2 separate regions of the Homo sapiens genome follow, and region 2 is linked to region 1. The links are contacts of gene promoters, found by promoter capture Hi-C in blood cells and fetal thymus (Javierre and others, 2016). All regions are on one chromosome and are shown on one strand. The core of a region is centred on a gene start or on the middle of the fragment in contact, and the rest is flanking DNA. Distances in the headings are between cores, read along the strand shown.

Region 1 (7,258 bases), core at 2,167-4,666:
TCAACTGCTTGAAACTCCTCACCTTCACTTGTCTCTATGGACACAGATATTCTTTGGAGTACTATACCGTTCCAATTAGTAAAGCTTTCAGTATTCATTTTGCATCTCATCATTAAAGTTTATTCTTAGTAACTGATTTAAAATAATGAATTGTTTACATAACAACTACTGTTACATAACACACACACACACACACACACACACACACACACAAACACACACACACAGCTAAGGTCAGAATACCATGGAGGAAAAGAAGAATCTGGTGGTCAATTCCCTTACATTCTTCTATTGACAAATTTTCTTGTTGGGACCTTCACTTATTTCATCAAAGGATTGTGGCTAATGATCTAATTTATTACTCAGAATCTTTTTATTTATTTGTTTTGGAGACAGGGTCTCACTCTGTTGCCCAGGCTAGAGTGCAGTGGTGTGATCATAGCTCACTGTAGCCTCCACCTTCTATGCTCAAGCAATCCTCCTGCCTCAGCCTCAGGAGTGGCTGGGACTACAGGCACACACCACCATGCCCAGCTAATTTTTTTTTTTTTTTTTTCTGTAGAGACGGGGTTTCGTCATGTTGCCTAGGCTGGTCTTGAACTCCCGGGCTCAAGCAATCCTCCTGCCTCAGCCTCCCAAAGTGCTGGGATTACAGGTGTGAGCCACCACAGCCGGCCATCACTCAGAATCTTAAGTCATTGTCAAATAATGGAAAGCATACAAATCAAACAGTAGTCCAATTCTAGAATTAATATAAAAAGAAAGCTCTAATATACAAAGACCAAACAGATTTTACAGGATAAAACAACTGTCATTAAAAAGTAAAACTGGCAGGTGTGGTGGTGCACATCTGTAATCCCAGCACTCTGGGAGGCCAAGGTAGGAGCATTACTTGAGCCCAGGAGTTTGAGACCAGCCTGAGCAACATGGCAAGACCCCGTCTCTACAAAAAGTACAAAAATTAGCCAGGCATGGTGGCATGCTCCTGTAGTCCCAGCTACTCAGGAGGCTGAGGTGGGAGGATCACTTGAGCTTGGGAGGAGGTTGCAGTGAGCTGAGATGGTGCCACTGCACTTTAGCCTGGGCAACAGAGCAAGACCCTGTCTCCAAAAAAAAAAAACCGTTTCTTCAGAATAGGATATCAAATATGTAAAGTAATAATTTGAGAAACATGAAAAAGCGTTATGTGTAAAGAAAATCAGAAGACTTAATCTGTATTAGTTTAATGTAAAAGCATGCACATATGTGAAACAAAGTAGAAGGGAACACTAAAGAAAAAAATGGGTGTGATTGGGTCATGGGAGAATGTTTTTTACTTTTTGGTTGTAATGTTTGTGTGATACAAGAGGGACAGAAATTACTTTCGAAATGTACTTGTTAATTTTAGCAAAATCCTCGTGGAAATTATACTGCTAGTTTTAAAATAAAACACAAGCACTAAAATAATAAAGGTTATGTTTCATTTTTATTAACTTAGTTTTGCCACGGTTGAGACTGGATTTGCCATAGTTCAATTTATCAAGCACTTAACTATGTGTTCCGCACATAATAATCATCTTAGCATAGAGGAACATGTCTTCTAATCCGCACAAGAGATACTATTTTTATCACGTCATAGAGGAGGTTAATAAACTTGCCTAGGTCATAAGATCTTCAGTTGATGAAGTTAGGATTTCAACCCAGAGCCAAGTAATGTAATGGCTGATGTTTTCCACAGAGAAAATGTAAGCCGAGATGATGCTCAAACTATAAATCTGGAACCTTAGGGGGACAAAAACGTATGGATGTCTCCTTCCCATTACTTTAGCATTTTAATTAGATTCCTGTGTCTCTATTTGTCTTTGGAAATGCAAGCTGCTTGCAGTTCATCATAGCTAACTCACACAATTCATTTTATGAAACACAAACCTGTTCTCACAAACTCACTGTCATCTCTTTTTAATCTTTCTAATTGTGATAAAAATCATACTGCACTTTACCCTGTGTAACCTCCAATGATCTTTGACCAAAAGCCAAATCTTTTTTTTGTTGTGTTTACTTATGGACAGTTAGGTTCTACATAGGTACTTAAACATGAAAATTGAAATCATAGAGGCTGGGCACAGTAGCTCATGCCTGTAATCCCAGCACTTTGGAAGGCCGAGGTGGGCGGATCACCTGAGGTCAGGAGTTCGAGACCAGCCTGACTAACATGGTGAAACACCGTCTGTACTAAAAATACAAAAATTAGCTGGGCTGGTGGCCCGTGCCTGTAACCCCAGCTACTCCGGAGGCTGAGGCAGGAGAATCACCTGAACCTGTGAGGCGCTGGCTGGAGTGAGCCAGGTTCGCGCCATTGCACTCCAGCCTGGGCAACAAGGGCAAAACTCTGTCTCAACAACAATAATAATAATAAATAAAAGAAAGAAATCACAGAAACTATACCAGAAAATAGGATACAAAACCAACAGTGAGGAGATTGAGAAAAGGAGGCAGATACGTAAAGAGGAAAAGGAAGGGGGCCCAAGTAAGGCCGGAAAAAGCGGGGAGAAGGAGGAGGCTCATTAGGTCAGAAGCAACCTGCCGTCTTCTAAGTTCTGGCCAAGGGTAGATCAACAGATCCAGATTCCTGAGCTTTAAAATGTTATTCGGCCGCTTCATCACTTGTCCCCGACTTTGCAGCGACTCCGATGGTAGCCTGAGTCTCCATTGCTTGGAGCAGCCACAGTGGACACTGGACGGGATATTCTGTGCAGCTGTTGCTGAACTCAAGGCAACTCTTACTGCCTTTCTCTTTTCGGGCTCAAGATTCCCTGCATTATTGCCCATAGGCATGTGTTTTACCCCATACTCCTTCTCCCTTTTATCTTGATTTTCGCGGTGCTGGGGAGTCTGCAGGGATTCCATGGCGACGGGCTCACTGGGACAGGGGCTGGGGTTGTGCGTCCCTGAGGCAAGGCAAATACAGAAAAGCGAATAGAGACAGAGGGCTAAGATTCCAAAGCACTGAAAGGTAGAAACTGGGTTAGAAGAGAGAGGGGAGCACAAACGCCCGGAGAGAGCGAGCCCTCGGGATACCATTGGCTATAGGCTGGCCTCCGAACAACTGGACGGTCCAAGTCCTGAGCGTCTGGTTACCCGGGCAACCGCATGGTCTCGCGATACATACCTCGCGCCTGCGCACTGCCCCTGTAGCGGGGGTGGGGGGACCCGGTCCGGAGACTCCACCCCGGGGCCTAAACTCGAGTCTAAAAGATTGGGCCTCGTTGTGTCGTTTCCGGGTCGCGCGACGCTGTGGGCCGCTTTCCCCTCTCCGGAGTGACCTAACACAGGATAACGAAACCTGCACTGCTCCGAGCGCTTCCTCCCCGGCCCGTCGCGTCTGCGAGGCGAGGCCGGGAGGCGAGGGCTCTGCGCACGCGCGGCGCAGGCGCACTGGGCGCCGGTGCTGTTGCCTTCAGGTGACCACGGATTCGCCATCGTGAGTTCCAGGTGGGCGCGCGGGGCCCACGTAGGGCAGGAGGCCAGCCCCGGGGGGATCGGGCCCGGGACTCTGCGGAATCTGGAGGCCGAAGCCCGCGCGCACGCAGGGTCTCTGCTGCTTCCCCAACGCCTGTTGCGTGGCCGCAGGACCCGCCGCCCTCCCGGTTGGGCCGCCCAGTCCCGGGCCGGGCGCGTGCACCCAGAGCTTCCGCGTTTCTAGTCCGGCTCCTCTGCTGGATTGCAGCGCCGGCTGGGCACCAGGAGTACAAAGCGAAAACCCCCGCCGGCCCTTCTGTTCTCCACGGTCTCCAAGGAGACACGGACAACAGAACAACACTTCCGTGTGCTAAATAGTAAAGCACCAAGGTACTCGATCCAGGGGCGGCGTGCAGTGGGGAGGTGAGCTTTGGGTCGGCCGTCGCCCCTCGGCTACCGGCGGGATCCAGAAACCGGGAGTCACCACCAATACCGTTCTCAACTTTACTTCCAGCTGGTCACTACTGTGTCGGGAGATTCTACCTTCTTTTCCGACTAACATGTATTTTTCTCCAGTCCTTTCTGCGGCGTCTCTAGTGCAGGCCACCGTCATTTCTAACCTGGACGACTCCAGGAGCGTCTTTGCTGCTCGGGGACTCTTCCTTTGCCCAGATCCACAAAGATCTATAACGTCTTTCTAATCACGACACCTCTGCTTTAGATGTTAAAGTTGCTTCACACTGGAACGCTTGCAAAGGTCTTCATTATCTGGTCCTTACCCACCTTTCCTAGTTTCTCACCGCTTTCTCTAGCATCTCTGCCCCAGCCACATTGAACTTATTTGAACGTGTTTTTTTTTTTTTTTTTTTTTTTGAGACATAGCAGTCGCCCAGGCTGGAGTGCAGTGGCGCGATTCCGGCTCACTGCAACCTCCGCCTGCCGGGTTCAAGCGATTCTCCTGCCTCAGCCTCCCGAGTAGCTGGGACTACAGGCGCCTGCCACCACGCCCGGCTAATTTTCGTATTTTTAGTAGAGACGGGTCACCACGTTGGTCAGGCTAGTCTCGATCTACTGACCTCAAGTGATCCGCCCGCCTGGGCTTCCCAAAGTGCTGGGATTACAGGCGTGAGCCACCTCGCCAGCCAACTTATTTCTTTTAATACTGAGATACCTTTCTTTACTCCATACTTCCTTTGGTAGGCATTGTTTAGATGTAGGTTAAGAGGTCCGGCCCGGCGCGGTGGCTCACGCCTGTAGTCCCAGCACTTTGGGAGGCCGAGGCGGGCGGATCACAAAGTCAGGAGATCGAGACCATCCTGGCCAACATGGTGAAACCCCGTCTCTACTAAAAATACAAGAATTAGCCGGGCGTGATGGCCCGTGCCTGTAGTCCCAGCTACTCGGGAGTCTGAGGCAGGAGAATCGCTTGAACCCTGGAGGCGGAGGATGCAGTGAGCCGAGATTGTGCCACTGCACTTCAGCCTGGCGACAGAATGAGACTCCGTCTCAAAAAAAAAAAAAAAAAAAAAAGTTCCTCTGTGAGGACTGCCTTTTCCCACCCCCCTCAACTAAGCTAGGCCTCTGCTGGATGTTCCCTAAGCATACTGTTCCCTGACCTTCATGTGCATCAGGCTTTATTGTATAATTACTTGCTAATATTTTTTCCTCGTGGACTCTAAGCTCATGAGGTCTGTGAGAAAAAATACTTAATCTTTATGGCCTGGCACATCGTGGATAATCGATAAATATTTGTTGAAGAAAGGAAGGGGCCTGCGGCTGAGGGTGGGAGTGGTATTCCAGGCAGAGGGACTAATGTGTATAAAGACTTGCAGGTGGGAAAATGCTGGCCTCATTAAATAGTATGTTGTTCGGTGTTGAGGACTTGTGCTTGGTGGGGCCTAAGGAGAAAGAGGGCCTAAGTGGGAGATTGAGCTGGAGTGTGGAGGGCCTTTTATGTCACATTAGAGTTTAGGCGGGGCATGGTAGCTCATGCCCTCAATCCCAGTACTTTTGGGGAGGCCGAGGCTACGGGATTGCCTGAGCCTAGGAGTTGAAGACCAGCCCAGGCAACAAAGCAAGACCTTGTCTCTATAGAATTTCTTTTTTTTTTTTTTTTAAGACGGAGTCTTACTCCATTGCCCAGGCTGGAGCACAGTGGTGCAATTACGGCTCATTGCAGCCTCCGCCTTCTGGGTTCAAGCAATTCCCCTACCTCAGCCACCCACCTAAGTAGCTGGGATTACAGGTGTGCACCAGCACTCCTGGCTAATTTTTGTATTTTTAGTAGAGACTGGGTTTCACCATATTTGCCAGGCTGGTCTCGAACTCCTGACCTCAAGTGATCTGTCCAGCTTGTCCTCCCAAAGTGCTGGGATTACAGGTGTGAGCCACCGTGCCCAGCCTATACAGAAAATTTAAAAATTAAAAAAATTTTCTGGGCTTGGTGGTATGCGCCTATAATCCCAGCTATTCAGCATGAGGCTGAGGTGGGAGGATTGCTTGAACCCAGAAGTTCAAGGCTGCAGTGAGCCATGATCGAACGACTGCACTACTGCCAGGTGACAGGGCAAGACTGTCTAGTAAAAAGAGTTTGCCCTTGATCTACAGGCAGCAGAGGCCTCTTGAGACAGCTCTAAAGGGCCCTCAGCAAAGCCTATTTTTCTCTCTTTCTCTAAAGCTATAAAATCTTATCAGTCAGTACTTTGTTTCTGGATTATATTGCGTGAGATTATGCTTATCCAGACTACTTGGCTCTCTTTATCGCCCCAGCAGATTCTGCAGGTGGGACAAGTTTATAGCCTGTTTTGTGATCCCTCTGGAGCATGATTTTAAGTATTTATTCTGTGGTGTTTGGATGTGGAGACATCATCTGACTTGCAGTTGGCAAGAGCTCTGCCCCATCCTATTTGTTTCACCCCCTGTCACTTATTTCCCTCTTCCTGACCACTTTGAACCTGATGCCAGCCCCTCACAGTCACTGCATTGCATCTGGATGAGCCACTTTTCTTCCTGATTTCCTGAGCTCTAGGGGAGCATAGAGATAATGGGGTCAGGGGACACAGTGTGGCCACCGTGAAGGAAGCAGCTTAGGCCCCAGAAGTCTCCAGGATTGCTGTACCGAGATGACCAGGGTGTGATCTCTCACCCTAAGGAGCTGAATTTGGCTTTTCTGTGGGAAAGTGTCTGGGAAGAATATCAGAGACCAATAGCGCTCAGGGGGCCCTTTCTCGGGGCTGTCCAGTGTGGAAACACCCTGTCCTACACCAGTGGTTCCTGATTCCGGCTCTGAATCAGATTCACGAGGGCAACTTTTTTTTTTTTTTTGATATGGAGTCTTGCTGTCGCCCAGGCTAGAATGCAGTGGCGCGATCTTGACTCACTACAACCTCCGTCTCCTGGATTCAAGAGATTCTCCTGCCTCAGCCTCCAAGTAGCTGGGATTACAGGCAGGCACCACCATGCCTGGCTAATTTTTTTGTATTTTTTAGTAGAGACGGGATTTCGCCATATTGGCCAGGCTGGTCTCGAACTCCTGACCTTATGATCCGCCCGCCTTGGGCTCCCAATGTGCTTTGGTTACTGGCGTGAGCCACTGCACCCGGCCTGGGGCAGCTTTTTATAAGCACAGATGCCCAGGCCTTATTATTGAAGATTCCAATTCAGTAGATCTGGGTTGAGGACCAAGCATCTGCATGTTTTAAGAAGCCACAGGTTATTTTTGAGGTGTAGCAAGGATTGAAAGAACAGAAAACTTGGATTTGGAAAACTAGTTGTGACTTTAGGCAGTGAGTCAGTTTCCTAATGCACACATTGGGGGATT
Region 2 (7,258 bases), core at 3,247-5,746, 490 kb before region 1:
CTTTGGGAGGCCAAGGCAGGAGGATCACTTGAGCCCAGGAGTTCAAGATCAGCCGGGGCAACATAGTGAGACCCCATCTCTACAGTTTTTTAAAAAAAGATATGCTTAACTCACACCTTTGGTAAAACATCTCTGGTCAGGGAATATAAAAGAATGTAGAATCTGCGGCTGAATAATGATTTCTATTTCCATAGAACATACACACTCAACACAACTCCCTCTTTGTGGGGAAGCCCTTCTTCTTTCTCAGTGCCAGCGTGTACCCTGCTGTGGGATCACTGCTATTCCTTGATCTACAAAAAAAAAAAAAAAAACTCTTTTCCATCACATACATCTCATGAATCTCAGAACTCAATTTTACTCTTTAAATATTTTTAAAGCTGAAAGATTTATTTTCACTTAAAAACAAAAAGTCAGTCCCAAAGTCAAGAGTTCACCTGGTGTCAAAGCAACATTACCTCCTTTTTCTGCATCTCTCTCCCCGTTTTCCTTCCTACAGCTCATCTGAGTCCGAATAATGTTCTTAAATAAGTCTTCTCACTCTTTCCCCACAAATTCCTCTTATCTTTTCATTTGCAACAAAACCTCTGGTGGGCACAGCTGTAGTTGGGTGCCCTTTGCATGATACAAGTCCTCACTTCTGGAATCCAGGCCAGCTCAGGACACCACGTCCTACCACAACCGGCTTCCCAGGGCTACTGGCCATGAGGTTTACCTTCAGCAAGGACACTGGGACAGAACCATACGGTTTCCCGATCCACCTTCAATCCCAAGCGACAAAGTGTCCGAACCCCACAGCCAAATTCCAGACAGAACTGAACAGTCCACCTCATCTGTTCAGCTAAGCCCCTACCAGCAGGCTCTGAACTGATGGGCGCTAGGCAAATCCCTATGCAGCTCCATGGCCCGCCGCACCCACCCACCCTGACATTTCCACCATCAGAAACCCAACCCCCACCTTCAATGGCATTGACATCATTCTTTCTGAGATACCTTAATTCACCAAGCAGTGCTTTCCCTTCCCAGCTCTTAACTGTAATTAAACAATTTTTGTGTAATTTTGTATAATTCTTTTTTATGTATATGTATATGTATTTTTTAGCGACAGGCTCTCACTCTGTCACCCAGACTGGAGTGCACTGGCGTGATCACAGCTCACTGCAGCCTCGAACTCCTGGGCTCAAGTGATCCTCCTGCTTCAGCCTCCAGGGTAGCTGGGACTACAGGCATGCACCACCACTCCCAGCTAATTTTTAAAAATGTGTTGTAGAGATGGGGGTCACTATGTTGCCCAGCCTGGTCTCAAACTCTTGGTCACAAGCATTCCACCTGCCTCAGCCTCCTGAGTAGCTTCAACCACAGGAGCGCGCTGCCACACCCAGCTAATTTTTCGTAGAGATGAGGGTCACTATGTTGCCCAGGCTGGTCTCACACTCCTGGCCTCAAGCAGTCCTCCTGCTTCAGCCTCCCAAAGCACTGGGATTACAGGCACAAGCCACTGTACCCAGCCCAGTTCTTTAAATATCCTCCTCACCTGCCTTATAGTCTTGTTAACAGCAGTAAACCCAGTGCCTGGCACATGACGGGCACTGAATGTCTGGTGAATGGAGAGTAAATGACAAGCAAAGCCTCCCCCATCAACCTTAAAATAGCCCCTTGTCCATGCACCATAACTAAATGGCAATCTAATCCAGCTTGCCAAATAATCTTTCTTTCTTTCACTGATGGGGTACCGGAATTAGGGATATGAGATGGGTAAGACTGTCCATTCCTCTTCAGCACGTTTCCTAAGTACTTAGGGTGAGGGAAACTTCAGATGGGTCAGGCCCAGCCCTTCTTGAACTAGAAAGGAAAAGGGGAGAAAAATGGTTTGTTTCAAGAAGGAAAAGCAAAAATAGGCCATGATTAGACAAGGGAACTATACAAGGAAATGCAGCAAGGTCTCATGAGGTCATCCCAAGGCCACACTCGACCCCATGATGCACACAGAGGACATCCCACTCCACAGCAGCTTTCCCACCCCCGAGTGTGCCCCACAGCACACTAGCACCCATAGTCACCTTCTCTAGGCTGAAAGAAGAGTGACAACTCCCCCAGATAGCCGGGGACTTCTACAAATGCCCAAAATCTAGATCTCACTTACCCAAACTCCCAACTCATTTCCTTAAAACACTTGCACACAGAATTCTGGAGGGAAGGGGCAGAAGGTAAGTTAGGAATAACATTAAGCCATATTCCTCATCTTTCCTCTTTCCATCAGGAGAGAAGTCTTCTACCCCTCCACCATTCCCAAAGAAAATCAGTAAAACTCTTTTCCACCTTTACTTGTGAGATTTTAAACAATTAACAGTCAAAGGAAAGATTCGATGAATGAATGAATGAATGACGGCGTCCATCCTCCCACATCAGGAACAAGATTTCACATGTCAGTTTCTCAGAAGCGCAAATCAAGTCCATTTTTAACCACCCAAGGAAGGGGATCTCCAGTCCCCTGGGGTAGGAGATTGTGACATTTCCTATTGGAGCTTCGTTTGACTTTTGCAGACAGAAACACATCACGACTCCTGAAGGAATGCCGATCATCAGAGCAGACTGCATGCATGACTCATTCACTCACAGGCTACTACTGCACCGCAACACTCCCCTGAGCGTGTGTGCAGATTAAAGCGCCCCGAGTGTCAGGAACTGCAACAAAAATGCACCTGAGTGGACACAGCCACAACTTCCTTCTTGTAGATTCTTCTAACTTCAAAATGTATTGCATCATCCTAATGATCAACCTACTTCTAAACGGTTGTCTCAAAGACCTCTATTTTGCATATTAGAGAATTCAAAAGTCCAAAAATGTTACAAGAGGAAAATAAAAGTATGTAATGACAAAAGCGTCCAGTGGCCAAATCTGTGGCTAAAGAACGATTTTATTTTAAAAGAACATACACACTCAACACAACTCACGATTCTCAGGAAAACCCTTATTTTACTTTCTCAGTGCAAGGTCTTTAAGAAGCCAGCATGCACCCGGTTGTACAATCACTGCTATTCCTTGTTCCACAAACAAGAATTCCTTTCCATCACATATTTCTTATGAATCTCAGAACACAATGTTACCTTTAAAATATTTTTAAAGCTTAAAGATTTCATTTAAAGACAAAAGTCAATCCCAAATGACTCCTGAATTCAAAAATATAGTCCATGAAACTTTTTTGTCAGCCCATTCTTCCAAATAAAGTGGAAATTTACATTGTTTTTCCTGTTTCTTTCTTCTCCCTTCTGTACAGGTGGTTATATGCAAACCTATAAGAAAATATATTTCAAAACAACTTGTCCGTATTAATCTTGGATGTAAGTGGCATACCAATATTGTAGAATTATCATGATTAAATATATTTTAGGCTGATGTGGCTGGTCAGTAATGCTCTCATTTACCACCCCACCCTCTTTCCCACACACACACACACACACACACACACACACAAACACACTATGGCTGCCAAGTCATAAATTAAGCAAAGATGCCTTCATCCTTAGGGTGTGTTTGGGTGGTGAGCATATGAGTGGTTTTTTTCTATATATTTTCAATTTTTTAATTAATATATAAAATTTTCTCATGAAAAGTTTTAAACCGGAAACCAGCAGCGCTAAGAAATCTTCTCTGGACAGGTAGCCCAGACACTATTTCAACTTAAAGCCACTTGGATAGATAGAATTTCCAAAGTGATGTTAGGAAAACGTGGCTGGAGGAGAAAACCGATGTACTTGATAGCAAGAAATCGCAAGTTTAAGAATGTGAAGTCCAACAGCCCTCATTCCGTTTTTCTTTGACCCCTCAAAATCGCACCCATCCTATCAAGTAACTTTGCTCCGCTGTCATTGCCTAAAATCTTTGGGAGGGAGGAAGGAAGCAGGCTTGGTACCTTGCAGCAGAGAATGAAATCTACAGTTTACCCTCTCAACCTAATTCCTCTTGCAGATTTCACAAGTGGTGGACACCATCCCCTACATAACACTAACACTTGGCCATACCCATCAGTGCCACCTCCAAGGGACCTAAAGATGCCTGGGGGAAATTACGGAACCCAAATTGAATTAGGACTCCTTGTGTGTGTTACACCACCCCATATGCTGGGTTCACTGGAACAGGGGAGAAAGAGAAGAGGCAAAAGAGGAAAAGTTACTTGCAGACTGGAGTCAGTGTCACGGCCACCGTCGGCGCGGGGCAAACCTCCCCGGCCCCGGCTTTGTCTGCCTGGCGGGGGCTGGCGTCGGGGCGCGACCCGGTCCACGCCGGGCGCCGCGGGGCGAGGGGCGCCGAGGGCGGGCATACGGCGCACACGGCCAGGCAGTGCACACCGCGCCGGGTAGGGCTCCCCCGCGGCAGCGCCGAGAAGGCAACAATGAGCCGGGCGGCCGCTGGGCCCCTTCCCCGCAGCGGCCCCCGCCTCCGCGGCGCCCCCCGCACGGCCCCGCCGCGTGCCCGCCCTGAGCCCCGGCACCTCCCGGGCGCCGCGCGGGGTGACCCGTGGTCCCCGTACGCCCGCTGCCCTCCCGCGCACGGGGACCCCCCACCCGCCCGGCCGCCCGCCCGCCGAGAGGGTCCCCGGAGCCGGGGTCGGGCAGGGCCGCCGCCCGCCTCCCCGCGCCCCTCGTCTTTGTGTGGAAAGTAAGTGCGGGAGGCGAACCTACCTCGGCGCGCGCACAAAGGCGCGCGGCTCCCTCCCAGCTCGCTCCCGGCGCCCGCGGCGGCGCCCAGCGGCCCGACTGCTCGGCGGCGGCCCGAGGCGGCGCGAGGGCGGCTCCGGGGGCGGCGGCCCGGCCCGCAAGCCAGTCCGGCGCAGGGCGGCTCTCGCTCCCCGCGGCCCCGCGCGTCCGAATTAAGCGGCGGGGCGGGGAGGGGCGGGGCGGCAAGGCCACGCCCCCAACGCGCCCCGCCCTGGCAGCCCCGCCCCCGCCTTCCTTCCACGGCTCGCGCGCGTCGGGCGGAGATCCAGAAAGGCCGGGCATCCGCGCCGGGAGGGGCACCAGCCGGGGCTGCAGCGCTCGGCCTCCGGGACTCGGTGGGAGCGAGGGCTGGAGGGAAAGCGCGGCGGCCCCGGATGACCGGGAAAGTGGGAAGGCGGCCGCGTGGGTCACAGCCACAAAGCTCCGGGGCGCTCACTCTCCTTTTTTCTCACTCCCTCGTTCCCTCGCTCTCTCCCTCTACCTCTCTGTCTCTCTCACACACACATTCTCTCTTCTTTTATCTCTTTCTCTCTCCCTTAATCTCTTTCTCTCTCATTGTCTCTCTTTCTCTCATTCTCTCCCTCATTCTCATTCTCTTTCATTCTTTCTCTCTCCTCTGTCTCATTCTTTCATTCTCTTTCTCTCTCTGTGCTCACCCCCATCTCTCTCTCTTATTCTGTCTCACACACAAAGTACCCAAGAGCGTCTCGCTCCTGGGTGTCCGGGCTCCGTCTCCCCGGCAAGTCTGCGATGCTAAGAGGCCGTCCCCATAGAAATCCTGCCAGTTCCTCTTGGAAGAAAACGCAGACAGAATCAGGGAGGAAAAGGAGACATTTGTTGTAATTGTACAAATTTACGGTCAAGCCAGGACCCAAAACCCGGTGACCTGGAGATTCACCCATTTTCCTCCCCTCCCTTCATCAAAGGGTAATTGGAAATTTAAATATGCAAGAAAGAAAGGGTTTATTCCGCCTCTTTGCTCTCTGATCTCCTTTTCTTCAGCTCTCTTACAAGTGCTTTTCTGGCCAACCCTAAGGCTCTGAGATTACAATCTACTTGAATCACAGCAGGTACAAAATCAGGGACTGAAACAGTTATCGGTTTCAGCGTAGCAAAAAGGACAACAGGTTCGTGGATTTTAGATCAAAAGCTTTTTAACTGTCTTGGCAACAGATGACTAAGGGCTTATTTATGGGGAAATTTTTCTGACTAAGACAGTTTGGGTCATAGTCATACTGAAAAGTCACATCAGTTACGGATTTTGGTAAACAAATTACTTATTCCAAAGATACCTATCACACACCATGCTCTAAGCCACAGCCTGCCAGCCAAGTAAGGGTCTGGCCATCCCTGGGTCCCTGGAACCCACTGAGGGGTGGAATCCCTGCCAGAGAACTTAAAGAAACTCCTTCCCAGCTGAGGAAGCTGAATTCCATGAACTTTATACATGGTGTTTCCTATGATTCTTCCTTCTCTCTCGTCCTTGAGTTGTGTTTCTGTTCTTAACAATGGCTCCACCAGTCACCAAACCAAAACCTAGGATCCAGCCTAAACTCTCTCCCTCCCCACATTGGCATCAACTCCAAGGTTTGTGCAGTGTGCACAATTCCTGGCTATCTCCCTCCCCCTCTGCTGGCACCGCCACTGTTGCCTTTGGGCTCAGTCACAATATGGTGGCAGGGGTTTCCTAACTGGCCCCAGCCTCTGGTCTAACACATGCTTTTCCTCTCAACTTTCTGGGGTGCAAGTGAACTTTCCAGGTGCAAGATGCTCAGTTTCCTCCTCTGCTTGAAACACTTTAGTGGATGCCTGCTTCCTGCTACATGATCAAGTCGAAGCTCCCCAGCAAACATCCAAGGCTCCACTCAGCCAGAGTGCCGTATTTGCTAAGTGGCCCTGCTCTGTGATGAAGACTGGATGAAATAATGAATATATGGCCTTGTCATGCTCTTCCACGGGCTTCCCCTCTGCCTAGCAGACCTTCACCAATCCCCAAGAGCTCCTCTCCTCTCTGAGAATCAGTCTTCTCTGGAAACCCTTTCCTGACCTGCTCACACTAAATGGATCTTTTCTGCCCCTCCCATACCCGACATGGTATTGGCGTTATTGCACTGTATCGTAAATATGTGCCTCTGTGAGCCCAGAGTTGATGCTTGACATATATACATATCTTTATACCCTCTTGCCTAATGTAATATCTGGCATATGGGAAGTGTTATGGACTAAACTGTGTACCACATACCCCTATAATTCATATGTTGAAGCCCTAACCTCCAATGTGACTGTATTTGGAGACAGGACCTATAGGGAGGTAATTAAGGTTAAACAAGGTCATAAGGGTGGGACCCTAAGCTCATAGGTCTGGTGGCCTTATATAAGGAGGCAGAGACACCAGATCCCTCCTTCCTTCTCTCTTCCTCTCTCCCTCCCTCCTTCCCCTCTGTCCCTTTCCCCACTCTCTCTTTCTCTGCCCAAACACAGAGAAGAGGCCACATGAAGACACAATGAAAAGGCCGCCAACTGCAAGCCAGAAAGAGAG

The links. The method cuts DNA at HindIII sites, captures the fragments that hold promoters and counts their contacts. A CHiCAGO score of 5 or more calls a contact.
Region 2: a fragment that was not itself captured here is called in contact with the fragment with the promoter of RPP38 in region 1 in 1 of 17 cell types (erythroblasts); the score reaches 5.3 in erythroblasts.

Annotation. Positions count from the first base shown.
Region 1 is chr10:15,093,939-15,101,196 of GRCh38, forward strand. It overlaps RPP38 (ribonuclease P/MRP subunit p38), which reads left to right and starts at 3,417. Exons shown (of 3, transcript NM_183005.5): 1 at 3,417-3,828. RPP38-DT (RPP38 divergent transcript) reads right to left here and starts at 3,381. Exons shown (of 2, transcript NR_160789.1): 1 at 3,149-3,381; 2 at 1,447-2,927. RefSeq lists enhancers at 2,962-3,533, 3,835-3,924, 3,985-4,124 and a silencer at 3,335-3,694. The HindIII fragment of the contact is 10,027 bases long and covers 83-7,258 here.
Region 2 is chr10:14,599,557-14,606,814 of GRCh38, forward strand. All of the region lies in intron 2 of FAM107B (family with sequence similarity 107 member B), which reads right to left. Among named protein-coding and RNA genes, the nearest start is that of MIR1265, 170 kb to the left of the region's middle. RefSeq lists an enhancer at 2,414-2,583 and silencers at 4,253-4,472, 4,703-5,202. The HindIII fragment of the contact is 2,742 bases long and covers 3,126-5,867 here.